3 separate regions of the Homo sapiens genome follow, and all the other regions are linked to region 1. Evidence: promoter capture Hi-C in human tissues and cell types (Jung and others, 2019). All regions are on one chromosome and are shown on one strand. Each heading gives the region's core, a stretch centred on a gene start or on the middle of the fragment in contact. The rest is flanking DNA. Distances are from core to core; before and after follow the strand shown.

Evidence for each region. Contacts are between HindIII fragments. The study calls those that stand out against the background at their distance.
Region 2: a fragment that was not itself captured here is called in contact with the fragment with the promoter of RNF125 in region 1 in 1 of the 25 tissues and cell types used here (mesendoderm cells).
Region 3: a fragment that was not itself captured here is called in contact with the fragment with the promoter of RNF125 in region 1 in 1 of the 25 tissues and cell types used here (mesendoderm cells).

Annotation. Positions count from the first base shown.
Region 1 is chr18:32,016,413-32,020,534 of GRCh38, forward strand. RNF125 (ring finger protein 125) reads left to right here and starts at 2,413. Exons shown (of 6, transcript NM_017831.4): 1 at 2,413-2,615. The coding sequence starts at 2,452. RefSeq lists enhancers at 1,735-2,607, 2,014-2,308, 2,608-3,480, 3,125-3,174 and a silencer at 2,014-2,308. The HindIII fragment of the contact is 18,790 bases long and covers 1-4,122 here.
Region 2 is chr18:31,828,850-31,832,971 of GRCh38, forward strand. It overlaps TRAPPC8 (trafficking protein particle complex subunit 8), which reads right to left. Exons shown (of 29, transcript NM_014939.5): 28 at 3,235-3,324; 29 at 348-2,140. The coding sequence ends at 1,906. Among named protein-coding and RNA genes, the nearest start is that of SLC25A52, 70 kb to the left of the region's middle. The HindIII fragment of the contact is 4,013 bases long and covers 1-3,961 here.
Region 3 is chr18:31,878,948-31,883,069 of GRCh38, forward strand. All of the region lies in intron 12 of TRAPPC8 (trafficking protein particle complex subunit 8), which reads right to left. Among named protein-coding and RNA genes, the nearest start is that of TRAPPC8, 62 kb to the right of the region's middle. The HindIII fragment of the contact is 6,100 bases long and covers 1-4,122 here.

The DNA.
Region 1 (4,122 bases), core at 1,163-3,662:
TAATAAAGCAGTTTTTGGACAGATGGAGGTGGAGAGGTTGGTTCAGAACCCAGACTGGACTGAATAAGAAGTGAATAATTAAGAAATGATGACAAAATGTAGAGGATCAGATCAAGAGATTTGGCCTTGAAGCGGATATGGGGCAGGAGTTGAGGCATAAGTGGGATGAAAGGGAGGTTTTTGTTTTCCTTTTGAAGATGGGAATAACTACCTTTTCATCTTATTTCCCCCCCCCCACCGCCTGCCCCCCACCACCCATGCTCCAGCTCCATAGGTCTTTCCTTTCTTTGGTTCTGCCTCATTCACTGTTCCCAGTCCACGCTTTTTCCTAAATCTTTGAATGGCTCACTTCTTTTCATTATTCATGGCTCTGCTCAAATGTCACTTCATCCAAAAATTCTTCTCTGAGCTTATTCTTCTCCTCATTGCCATTTACTGTTTTATCTTCTTCATGGCTCTGATTATCTGAAATGATTTTGTTCATTTGTTTATGGATTGATTACATGTATCTTCCTTTTGTTTGTTGTTTGTTTTTGAGACAGAGTCTCGCTCTGTTACCCACGATGGAGTGTAGTGGCATGGTCTCGGCTCACTGCAACCTCCACCTCTTGGGTGCAAGTGGTTCTCCTGCCTCAGCCTCCCAAGTAGCTGGGACTACACGCATGTGCCACCACACCTGGCTAATTTTTGTATTTTTAGTACAAAAATTTTTACTAAAGAAATGTATTTCTAGTAGAGACGGGGTTTCACTATGTTGGCCAGGCTGGTCTTGAACTCCTGACCTTGTGATCCACCTGCCTCGGCCTCCCAAATTGCTGGGATTTCAGGCGTGAGCCACTGCACCCAGCCTGTTTTGGTTTTTTGAGACAGGGTCTCCCTCTGTTGCCCAGGCTGGAGTGCAGTGGCATGATCTCGGCTCACTGCAGCCTCCACCTTTCCGGTTCAAGCGATTCTTGTGCCTCAGCCTCCCAAGTAGCTCACACCCAGCTAAGTTTTGTATTTTTAGTAGAGACAGGGTTTCACCATGTTGGCCAGGCTGGTCTCAAACTCCTGACCTCAGGTGATCTGTCCTTCTTGCCTCCCAAAGTGCTGGGATTACAGGCGTGAGCCACTGCCCCGGCTTGGTTTGTTTTTTGAGACATGGTCTCACTCTGTCGCACAGGACGGAGTGCAGTAGTGTGATCTTGGCTCCCGTGCTCAAGTGATCCTCCCACCTCAGCCTCCCAAAGTGCTGAAATTACAGGCGTGAGCCACGGTACCCGGCCTATATCTCCTAATTAAAAGTAAAGCCTGGGTGAAGTTTATGGCCTGCTAAATACGTACATGTATTATATGCGTTATTATATCCCATGTGTTATATTATATATTATTGTATATGTGTATTATATACTATGTACTATTCTTACAACTGTATGTGAATCTATAATTATCTCAAAGTTTTGTTTTTGTTTTTTAAAGTAAGTTCTGTGAGAACTGGGATTTTGTTTGCTTGTTGACGATTGTGTCTTCATCACTAGAACCGAGTCTGGCGTGCAGTGGGCACTAAATAAGTCTTCGTAAAAAGTGTAAATTAACGCCCGGCTAATTTTTGTATTATTAGCAGCGACGGGGTTTCACCATGTTGGCCAGGCTGGTCTCGAACTCCTGCCCTCAAGCAGGAGTTTCAAGCCCGCCTCGGCCTCCCAAAGTGTTGGAATTACAGGCGTGGGCCACCGCGCCTGGCTGATCATGTTTAAAGGGCGGGGTGGGGAGCGTACAAACAACAGAGGAAATCCTGAGCCGCAGAGGAAACTGGAGATGGCAGGGTTTAGCACTAGAATCTCTGTAGGAGAGGTAAGATTGGAATCCTAATCTCCAGGACTCTTTCCACTACCCAGGCTATCTCTCCATTAATGGACTATTGATTGGATGACAGAGTAGCGATAGCACCGTCTTAGGAGACGCCCAATCATAGGTCATAGGTCATTTTTGCAGCTTATTGTGATGACAACAGTGGAGGATGGTCTTCCACTTCACCTTAAAAGCGGCTGTTCTCTGATTATCATTAAGCATGGCCACGCCCGCACTTAACTTCTGACAGTGGGGAAAGCAGCTGTGTGTGATAGCTTGGAAGGTTTACTGCTGCCTCAAGTCCTCTTCTCTGCAGTTGAGGTTTCAGGTTTCAATCCTCCCAATACCACAAGACAGAGCACGGGGCGGCTGCCGCCTCCGCCTCCGCGCCTTAACCTAGGCGGCTTGCCGAAGATCTCAGCCCCGCGGCCGCGCGCTCGCCCTGCCCTAGACCAGGGTTGGGCGCAGCGGCGGAGGTGGCTTCTGGGCTGCGCGAGCTGGGAGAGCTGGGAGGCGGCGATCGCAGCTGGGCCGGGACTTCCTTCCTCCACCGCACGGCAACAAAACAACCCTGCGGCAGGCACTGAGTGCTTCGCAGCTGTCTGGGCGAGAGGCACAGCGATGGGCTCCGTGCTGAGCACCGACAGCGGCAAATCGGCGCCCGCCTCTGCCACCGCGCGGGCCCTGGAGCGCAGGAGGGACCCGGAGTTGCCCGTCACGTCCTTCGACTGCGCCGTGTGCCTTGAGGTGTTACACCAGCCTGTCCGGACCCGCTGTGGCCACGTGTAAGTTCCAGGGGAGCTCGGTTTGCGCCCACCCCTAAGGAGGGCGATGTGGGGAAGCTGAGGGCATGGTGTGGGGAAGGAGGGGGACGGAAGACAGCCTCTTAGGAAATTGCTGCAGGGAGAAACCTGGACCCGTCGGATGCAGGACCACGGGGAAAACGCGGGTCGGAAGGTGACACAGGATTTCGGGAGGAGAAAAAATAAACAAGCGGGTCCTGTAGCCCCCTTGCGCTTTCAGCTCCCGAAGCCCAGGTGCGGAACTCCAGAGAAGGGGATCCAGGCACGGGTCCCGCCCAGAGCCAGGGCTCGCCAACTGGGGAGGGTGCTCTTGGCTGGAGAACCAGCGCTCGCCCAGGCACGGAAAGGAAACGAGCTCCAGCTACAAGGCAGGGGCTCCCGCAAAGCGCAGTTACCCCGCTGAACACGGTAGAACGGGCTGCGCTTCCCTCTGCCCCAGAAACCCGGGTCCGTTTTGTTTTGCTGGAGCTGTGCACGTGTTCCCAGAATGCCCACAGAGGCTCGTCTTAAGCAAACAAGGATCTGTGCAAAGTGTCTTTCCACCCCCACCCCTGCTACCCTTTCCCAACACAGACACCCAGCCCCTCAAAGGGCAAGTCAAACTGGAGCTTCCGAGTGACTTTCCACAGTTGTTAGAGTTTAACAACCTGCTAGGGTGGGGCTTGGACGTTAGCCGCCAAGCCCCTGAATGTACTCCTTCAAAACCCAGCCACAACGTAACAGGAGGTGGCAGGCTACCTGCTTTACGCACGGTCTCTCCAAACCGGCGGAAATTACAGAGTAAAATAACTTTCTCAAAACCGCATAGTACTTAGCTAAAACTCACAGTTGGTGCAAAGCCGTGGTCGTTTCTAAGAAGAATTTAAAAACAAAGTCCCTATATAAAATTGGCACATCCTTAATGTGTGTTTGAATAACTGGTGGAGTTGGAGCTGTGAATTTGTGCTCTCTGTTTACTGTGTGTGTGTGTGTGTGTGTGTGTGTGTGTTTGAGAGAGAGAGAGAGAGACGTAGTCTGGCTCTGTCGCCCAGGCTGGAGTGCGGTGGTGCTATCTCGGCTCACTGCAACCTCCGCCCACTGCAACCTCCGCCTCCCAGGCTCAAGTGAGTCTCCTGCCTCAGCCTCCCGAGTTGCTGGGATTACAGGCGCCCACCCCCACACCCGGCTAGTTTTTGAATTTTGAGTAGAGATGGGGTTTCACCATGTTGGCCAGGCTGGTCTTGAACTCCTGACCTCAATTGATCCACCCACCTCGGCCTCCCAAAGTGCTGGGATTAAAGGTGTGAGCCACTGCACCCAGCCTTCTCTCTTTGCTTTGATTTTTTTTCGTGGATACGTGTGTGTGTGTTGTGTCTGCACAGATCAGGAGCGGAAGCCTACTTAATGTCCTTTGAAGGGTGACTATAGTATGATGAAGCCATGTGTGATACCACAGTGGCTTGTACCAGCATTTGGCTTAGCAGGAAGAAAGAAATACCGTTATTATGAA
Region 2 (4,122 bases), core at 705-3,204, 190 kb before region 1:
TGTTGAACTGGGTAAAACTTTTCAGATACTGCAGGAATATTTTCCTAAACTATTTGTGCTACTCGTTACAGCTACAAATATGCAACACTTTTAATATGCATCACTAACATTTTCTCCATCACTTTCTTAGGTCTAGCGTAGACAACAAAAATAAATAAATCAAGCCCTGGTGTGTAGCATTTGCTGGTTTTCCTGAGGTAAACATTCTACTATCATTGATTTCAAGCTACCAGCAAGTCACTGAATGTAGGGTTGGCAAGAGATGAGCAGAAACACACCATTGTGTAGTATTTCCAGGATACAGATAAAATAGACATAAATAATCCTGAGTAATATTCAGGAAGTAATTTTGAGTGCTTTATTACCTTTATTTTTAATATATTCAGTTGTAGGTTTATATAGTTTAATTTTTTTATTAGTGTCTGTTTAACAATCGGTTCAATTTAATATTCAGCTGAGTGGTTTAAATATGAGATACCACTGTGATTATGCCTCCTCATTCTTGTCTTTCCTCCTCAGACTTTTTATAAGCCCATGGCCCTAAACTCTCAAGAAGGAAATGAGTGTCCTTAGAATGTGACCTTCCTCTCCAACTTGTCCCACACCTGCTAAGACACAGAGTGGAAGGAGCTGAAAAGCCAGAGACCCACTTAAGATCCAGAAGCATAAGCAGCAGTTGCAGAGAGGCACACAGACTAGCCACCCATCTCTCAAGAAGAGTTGTTCCAAGTACAGGTTTGGAATCTTCAGTCTGAAAACGGGGTCTTTTGATCTCTCCCCACTTTGGTGCAGTCTGCTCCGATTAGTGCCGAGATTGAGACTGGAACAAACCATGGTAGCTGTCAATGGCACAAGGACCCCATCTGCTCCAGACTTGACTGACCCTGGCTCTTGTACTCCCTGCCACCCACTCCTACACCCTGTCTTCCCTCCTTCTCCAATGACAAGAGATATTCATTGAAACAACCTTGCTCCCATTTCTCTATCTGCAGCAGGGCTGAATTGAAATTTCTTATGTCCAAATGCCCATTCTCTGAATAAAAAAATATTTTGAAACCAGACTTTCTAATCAACAGATACTAATACGCTATACAGTGAATAGCATGTCTTTATTCTATTTACAGTATATTTGTTATAAATATAATACATTTTTGAAAAGCTTATTTTTAATTAACTTGAGATTTATATTTTAAACAGATCAACTCAATAGTTAACGTTATATAATAAAGAATATGGTAATTTTAATGACAAAAATCGTATTGTGAAATAGCGCACTCTATACTGAGATGAATGAGGGGAAAAAAGTCAAAACTCCTTTCAAAACTATATTCAAAGCATCAGAAAAAATTTTTTTTTCTTTTTACAAAGTTATGTATAAGTCATAGGGACCACCAAATACTGAAATATGAAGACTCTATGACCAAAGTTCAAAACTGATTTTAAGGAACTGTGTGAAGCAAGACAGGAAAATTTGTATTTAACACTCTATAGAACTTCACAGTAAAGCTGGAATTTAGAGACTAATGGCTTAACAGGAGTACTGCCAACAAGGCCTTTCCTTTCTCAGAATCATCTCCTAATATTCGTATACCATTGACAAGTTGTAACAGCAGACTTAGACTTTGTGTTTTCTTAAGATGGGGCTTAATAAGGTGCACAAATATGCTGATATCCTGTATTATGAGCATGTAAATTATTCTCAGGGTTTAAAGAAATACAGAAAAAGAATGTTAAGTATTCTCAGTCCAACGTGCTTTGCATCATCAACAAAATGACAAGTCAAAGTATTTTGCAGGGATCAGATATCAATCAACCTCCATAACAAGTTAGGTATATCAAATACTGCTGTAAAACCCATCCAGCAAAAACTGATTATTGTGGATTTCAGTACAAATTTCCAAGTTGTCACACATTACTGATGATGATCAGGGCAGGCATGGAATTCTGCTGACTTGTTTCAAACACTGTAACTTGGTCCGATAACTTGGCAAATACCCTAGGAGTTCCAAGGTTATAAACACCTGTATGAACAAAGCATGCTTTCAGCTGCAGACTGTGAATCTCCTGGCTTTTAAGTTGAAGTTTATACTGTGTTTGTCCAAGCCATGTGAATGATCCATGGATTTCCAGTGCTTCTGGACTAAGGGAGGAGGAAAATGTAAGTTGCAGGATTTTTTTCTTTTTAATTTTTTTCCCAAAGTCACATTAACATATCCCTTTCAGCTGGGCGCGGTGGCTCACGCCTGTAATCCCAGCACTTTGGGAGGCTGAGGCAGGTGGATCACCTGAGATCAGGAGTTCAAGACCAGCCTACCAACATAATGAAGCCCCGTCTCTACTAAAAATACAAAATTAGCCAGGTATGGTGGTGCACGCCTGTAATCCCAGCTACTCAGGAGGCTGAGGCAGGAGAGTCACTTGAACCTGGGAGGCGGAGGTTGCAGTGAGCTGAGATTGCACCACTGCACTCCAGCCCATGAGAGAGCAAGACTCCATCTCAAGAAGAAAACAAACATCCCTTTCATCTAACAATTCTATTTCTAAAAATTATTTTATGAAGCCAACTGTTTATTAATAATAGCAACATCATTACTATAACAGCTAACATTTATTATTTAATAGTTTCTATTCTCTAGGCACAATGCTAAAAGTGGATTATTTCATTTAATGCCCTAAGAGTTAGTATATGTTGGAACTTGATTTCAAACCTAAACTTTTAACTCCTTAGTTAGCCATATATAAGTGTCTGTACATGAATGCTTTTAATATTGAAACTGTTTATAATATTGAAAAATGGAAAACCCAGTACCCAATAAAGTATTAATAAATTTATGATACACAAAATCACATATATAGGTGTGTGTTTGGATTTCAGAGAACTGTCCCAGATCCTGTTTGGGGTGTTATACAAAAATATTAAGTATACGCTTTATAGTATTTTTCCAAAAATTCAAAAATTTCTGAATTCCCAAAAGCATTTGGCTCTAGGAGTATCTGATGTGGGACTGTGGATCTGGATTTTTTTTTGTTGTTAAGTACTATTTTATAATCAAGAAAAAAAAATCTTTAATATTTAAAGCCTCTGTAACACATCTGTAAGCCTTCTATATTACCAAACAAAAAACCAGGACAAGCTTGAGTAACTTTCTTATCCATGTTAGGTAATTATTTGCATAATTTCAAAATATTAAATTGCTCCCAAATCAAATAACCTTGCACTAAACAAATCTTTACCTTGTTGTTTTATGCCGAAGATCAACTATGACATCTACATCAGCCTTAGAACAATTGGAAAGTAAAAGAGTGACTGGTACTAAACAAAGGCTATGGAAGAAAAATAAACAAAAAAGTTATATATTTTTTTCTTCTTAAAAGCAATTTTCCTGAAAATAACACTTAAGACTATGTAACAGAGCATAAGCTCCTTAAAAACAATCAGATTCAAGAAGGAAAAAGCTCAAGTTCCAAAATCACTCAAGACAAATTATATTGTAAATAAAAAATATATTAATACAATGACAATATTAAATATCAGAATATATACATTCACAGAACTATTTTATTTTCATTTATTAATCTTCTAAAAACAACTAAAATGTTTCTAGATATTTCACAAAATGAAAAACAAAATCTCAACTTAGATCAATGAAGAAAAAGTAAACCATGAAAATGCCAACAACTAATACTGTTGTCTTTGTGCTTATTAAAAATTACTTAATTTTGAGAACTTGGCCTAGACTGACATTTGTTTTTCTATCAAATTTGCACAACATCATGTTTTGAAGAATATAAGAATGATTTCTATATAGTTATGAGGAAATCTCTTTCGAGTGGATACATTTTGCTCAGGTAGCCTAGTTTCTGATACCATAATTAATAAATTACTAAAGCATAGGAAAAAAGGCAGTGATAGAAGAGGACATGCGAATAGAGTGGTACAGATTTCAAATCAAGAATGCAAGAAATGAATATAACATGTACAAATGAAGCAGGGTTATATACTATTATCTACCTTTTACTCTATAAACACAAAGATAGTAAAGAAGAAAAAATAGTAACCGTATAAGTTCATACACATTAACTTTTAAATTCTGCTCAGATAATATATTTTATACTTTCAGA
Region 3 (4,122 bases), core at 1,156-3,655, 140 kb before region 1:
ACTCAATACCAGAGCATCCAAATTTATAAAACAAATACTACTAGACTGAAGACAAGACAAGCAGCCATACAGTAATACTGGGGGACTTCAACACCCCACTGACAACACTAGACAGATCATCGAGGAAGAAAACTAACAAAGAAACTCTGGAATTAAATCGGACTTTTGACCAAATGGACCTAATAGACGTCTACAGAAGATTCCAACTGACAACTACAGGATATACATTTTTCTTATCTGTGCATGGAACATTCTCTGAAGTTGACCATATACTGGGTCACAAAGCAAGTCTCAAAAAATTTTAAAAAGTCAAAATCATATCAAGGATCTTCTCAGACCACAGTGGAATAAAATTAGAAATCAATACCAGGAGGAACGCTCAAAACCATACGAGTACATGGAAACTAAGCAACTTGGTATTGAATGACTTTAGGGTAAACAATGAAATTAAGGCAGAAATTTAAAAAAATTTTGAAACAAATGAACACAGAAACACAACATATCAATACCTCTTGGATACAGCAAAAGCAGTGTTAAGAGGAAAGTTTACAGCACTAAATGCTTATATCAAAAAGACAGATCTCAAATTAATAATGTCACATCTAGAGGAAACAGAAACAAGAACAAACCAAGCCCAAGCTGGCAAAAGAAAAGAAATAAAGATCAGAGCAGATCTTTATTCTTTAAATGAAATTGAGACCAAAGAAATCATACAAAGAATCAACAAAATAAAGTTATTTGAAAACACAAACAAAATTGATGAGACTACTAGGCAAGATTAAGCAAGAAAAAGAAGAGATGATTTTAATAAGCACAATCAGATATGACAAAGGTGACATCACAACTGATACCACAGAAATACAAAAGGTCCTCAGAGAATACTATGAACCTCTATGCACACAAACTAGAAAACCTAGAGGAAATGGGTTAATTCCCAGAATCATACAATCTCCCAAGACTGAACAAGGAAGAAACTCAAATCTTGAATAGGTCATTAAGTAGTTACAAAATTCCATCAGTAATTAAAAAAAAAAATAAATAAACAACCAAATGAAGCCCAAGATAGCTGGATTCAAAGCCAAATTCTACCATATGCACAAAGAAGAGCTGGTACCAATTTTACTGAAACTATTGAAAAAAAAAATATATATATATATATATATATATATATATATTTTTTTTTTTTTAAGGAAGAAAGATTCCTCCTTAACTAATATCATCCTGATATCAAAATCTGGCAAGGACATACACACAAAAAGAAAACAAGTCAATACCCATGATGAACACAGATGCAAAAACCATCAATAAAATACTAGCAAACCAAATCCAGCTGGACATCAAAAAGTCAAATTAATCACAATCCAGTGGGTTTTATTCCAGAAATACAAGGATGGTTCAATATTTGCAAACCAATAAATGTTACTCACCACATAAAGAGAATTAAAAACCATATGATCATCTCAATAGATACAGAAAAAGCATTCAATAAAGTCCAAAATCCCTTCATGATAAAAGCTCTTAACAAACTAAGCACTGTAAGAAACATACCTAAAAATAATAAGACCCATATATGACAAACTCACAGCCAAAATCATATTGAATGGGGAAAAGTTGAAAGCATTCCCCCTAAGAAGGGGAACAAGACAAGGATGTACACTCTGCACTCACACCACTTCTATTCAACATAGTACTAGAAGTCCTAGCCACAGCAATCACGCAAGAGAAAGAAGAAAAAGCATCCAAATAGGAAAAGAGGAAGTGAAATGATCTTTGTTCAATGATGACAAGATCCTATACCTAGAAAACCTAAAGATTCCTCCTAAAGACAGTAGTCATTAGGATAAATGACTTCAGCAGTTTCATGATACAAATTTAATGCACAAAAATCAGTTGTGTTTCTATACAGTCATAAAACTCAGGATGAGAACCAAGTAAGAACTCAATCCCATTTACAACTGCCACACACACACAAAATAAAATACCTGGAATACATTTAACCAAGGAGGTAAAAGAGAACTACAAAACACTGATAAAAGAAAGTACAGACACAAACAAAAGAACAAAAAAAACCCACGCTCACAGATAAGGAAAAATCAATATAGTTAAAATAACTATATTGCCCAAAGCAATCTACAGATTCAACAAACTATCTATCAAATAAATAATGTCATTTTCCACAGAATTAGAAAAAACTATTCTAAAATTCATATGGAACCAAAAAAGAGCCTGAGTAGCCAACAAAGTCCTAAGCAAAAACAAAGCCCGAGGCATCACATTCCCCAACTTCAAACTACACTACAAGGCTATAGTAACCAAAACAGCATGGTACTGGTACAAAAAATAGACACATGAACAATGGAATAGAATACAGAACTCAGAAATAAAGCAGCATACCTGCAACCAACAGATCTTTAACAAAGTCTACAAAACTAAGCAATGGGGAAAAGGACTCCCTATTCAATAAATGGTGCTGGGATAACTGGGCTAACCATATACAGAAGAATGAAACTAGACCCCTACCTATCACCATATGCAAAAAATTAACTGGAGATGGATTAAAGACTTAAAGATAAGACCTCAAAGTATAAAAAAATCCTAGAAGAAAACCCAGGAAATACCCTTCTGGACATCACCCTTGGCAAAAAATTTATGAGCAAGTCCTCAAAAGCAATGCCAACAAAAACAAAAATTGACAACTGGTACCTAATTAAACCAAAAAGCTTCTGCACAGCAAAAGAAACTATTAGCAGAATAAATAACGTCCAAAATCTGAGAAAATACTTGCAAACTACACATCCGACAAAGGACTAATATCCAGAATCTAAAAGTAACTTAAATCAAGAAAAAAAATCAAATAATCCCATTAAAAAATGGGCAAAGGACGTAAGGTACTTCTCAAAAGATACACAGGCAGCCATGAAAAATATGAAAAAATACTGAACATCACTAATCATTAGAGAAATGTAAATCGAAACAATGAGATACCATCTCATACCAGTTTAGAATGGCTATTTTAAAAGGCTATGGAGAAAACAGAACAGTTATACACTGTTGGTGGGAATGTAAGTTAGTTCAGCCAGTGTGGAAAGGAATTTGGAGGTTTCTCCAACAGATAAAAGAGAACTACCATTCAACCCAGTAATCCCATTACTAGGTATGTACCCAAAGAAAAGTAAATTGTTCTACCAAAAAGACACCTGTATTCTTATGTTCATCACAGCACTATTCACAGTAGTAAAAACATGGAATCAACCTATGGTGCTCATCAATGGTGGACTGTATAAAGAAAATGTGGTACATACACACCATGGAATATGACACGGCCATAAAAAAGAATGGTATCATATCCTTTGCAGCAACATGGATGGAGGTAGAGGCCATTATCATAAGTGAAATAAATCAGAAATGGAGAATCAAATAGGCATGCTCTCACTTATAAGTGGGAGCTAAACAATGGGCATGCACGGACATAAAGAGGAAATAATAGACACTGGGCACACCAAAAGGGGAGAAAGAGGAAGGGAAGGAAGTGAGGGTTGAAAAACAACCTACTGGATAATATATTCACTATTTGGGTGATGGGTTAGTTCTCTGAAGCCCAAATCACAGCATTACACAATATACTCATGCAGCAAACACAGACATGGACCTCCTGAATTTGTAATTATTTTTATTTTTATTTTTTTCGAGACAGAGTCTCGCTCTGTCGCTCAGGTTGGAGTGAAGTGGCACGATCTCGGCCTACTGCAACCTCTGCCTCCTGGGTTCAAGCGATTCTCCTGCCTCAGCCTCCCAAGTAGCTGGGATTACAGACGCATGCTATCACGCCTGGCTAATTTTTGTATTTTTAATAGAGATGGGATTCCACTATGTTGGCCAGGCTGGTCTCGAACTCCTGAACTCGTGGTCCACCCACCTCAGCCACCCAAAGTACTGGGATTACACGCATGAGCCACCATGCCTGGCCTCTGTAATTACTGTTTTAAAAGAGGTACAGCCAGGCGCAGTGGCTCACACCTGTAATCCCAGTACTTTGGGAGGCTGAGGTGGGTGGATCACGAGTTCAGGAGTTCGAGACCAGCCTGGCCAACATGGTGAAACCCCATCTCTATTAAAAATACA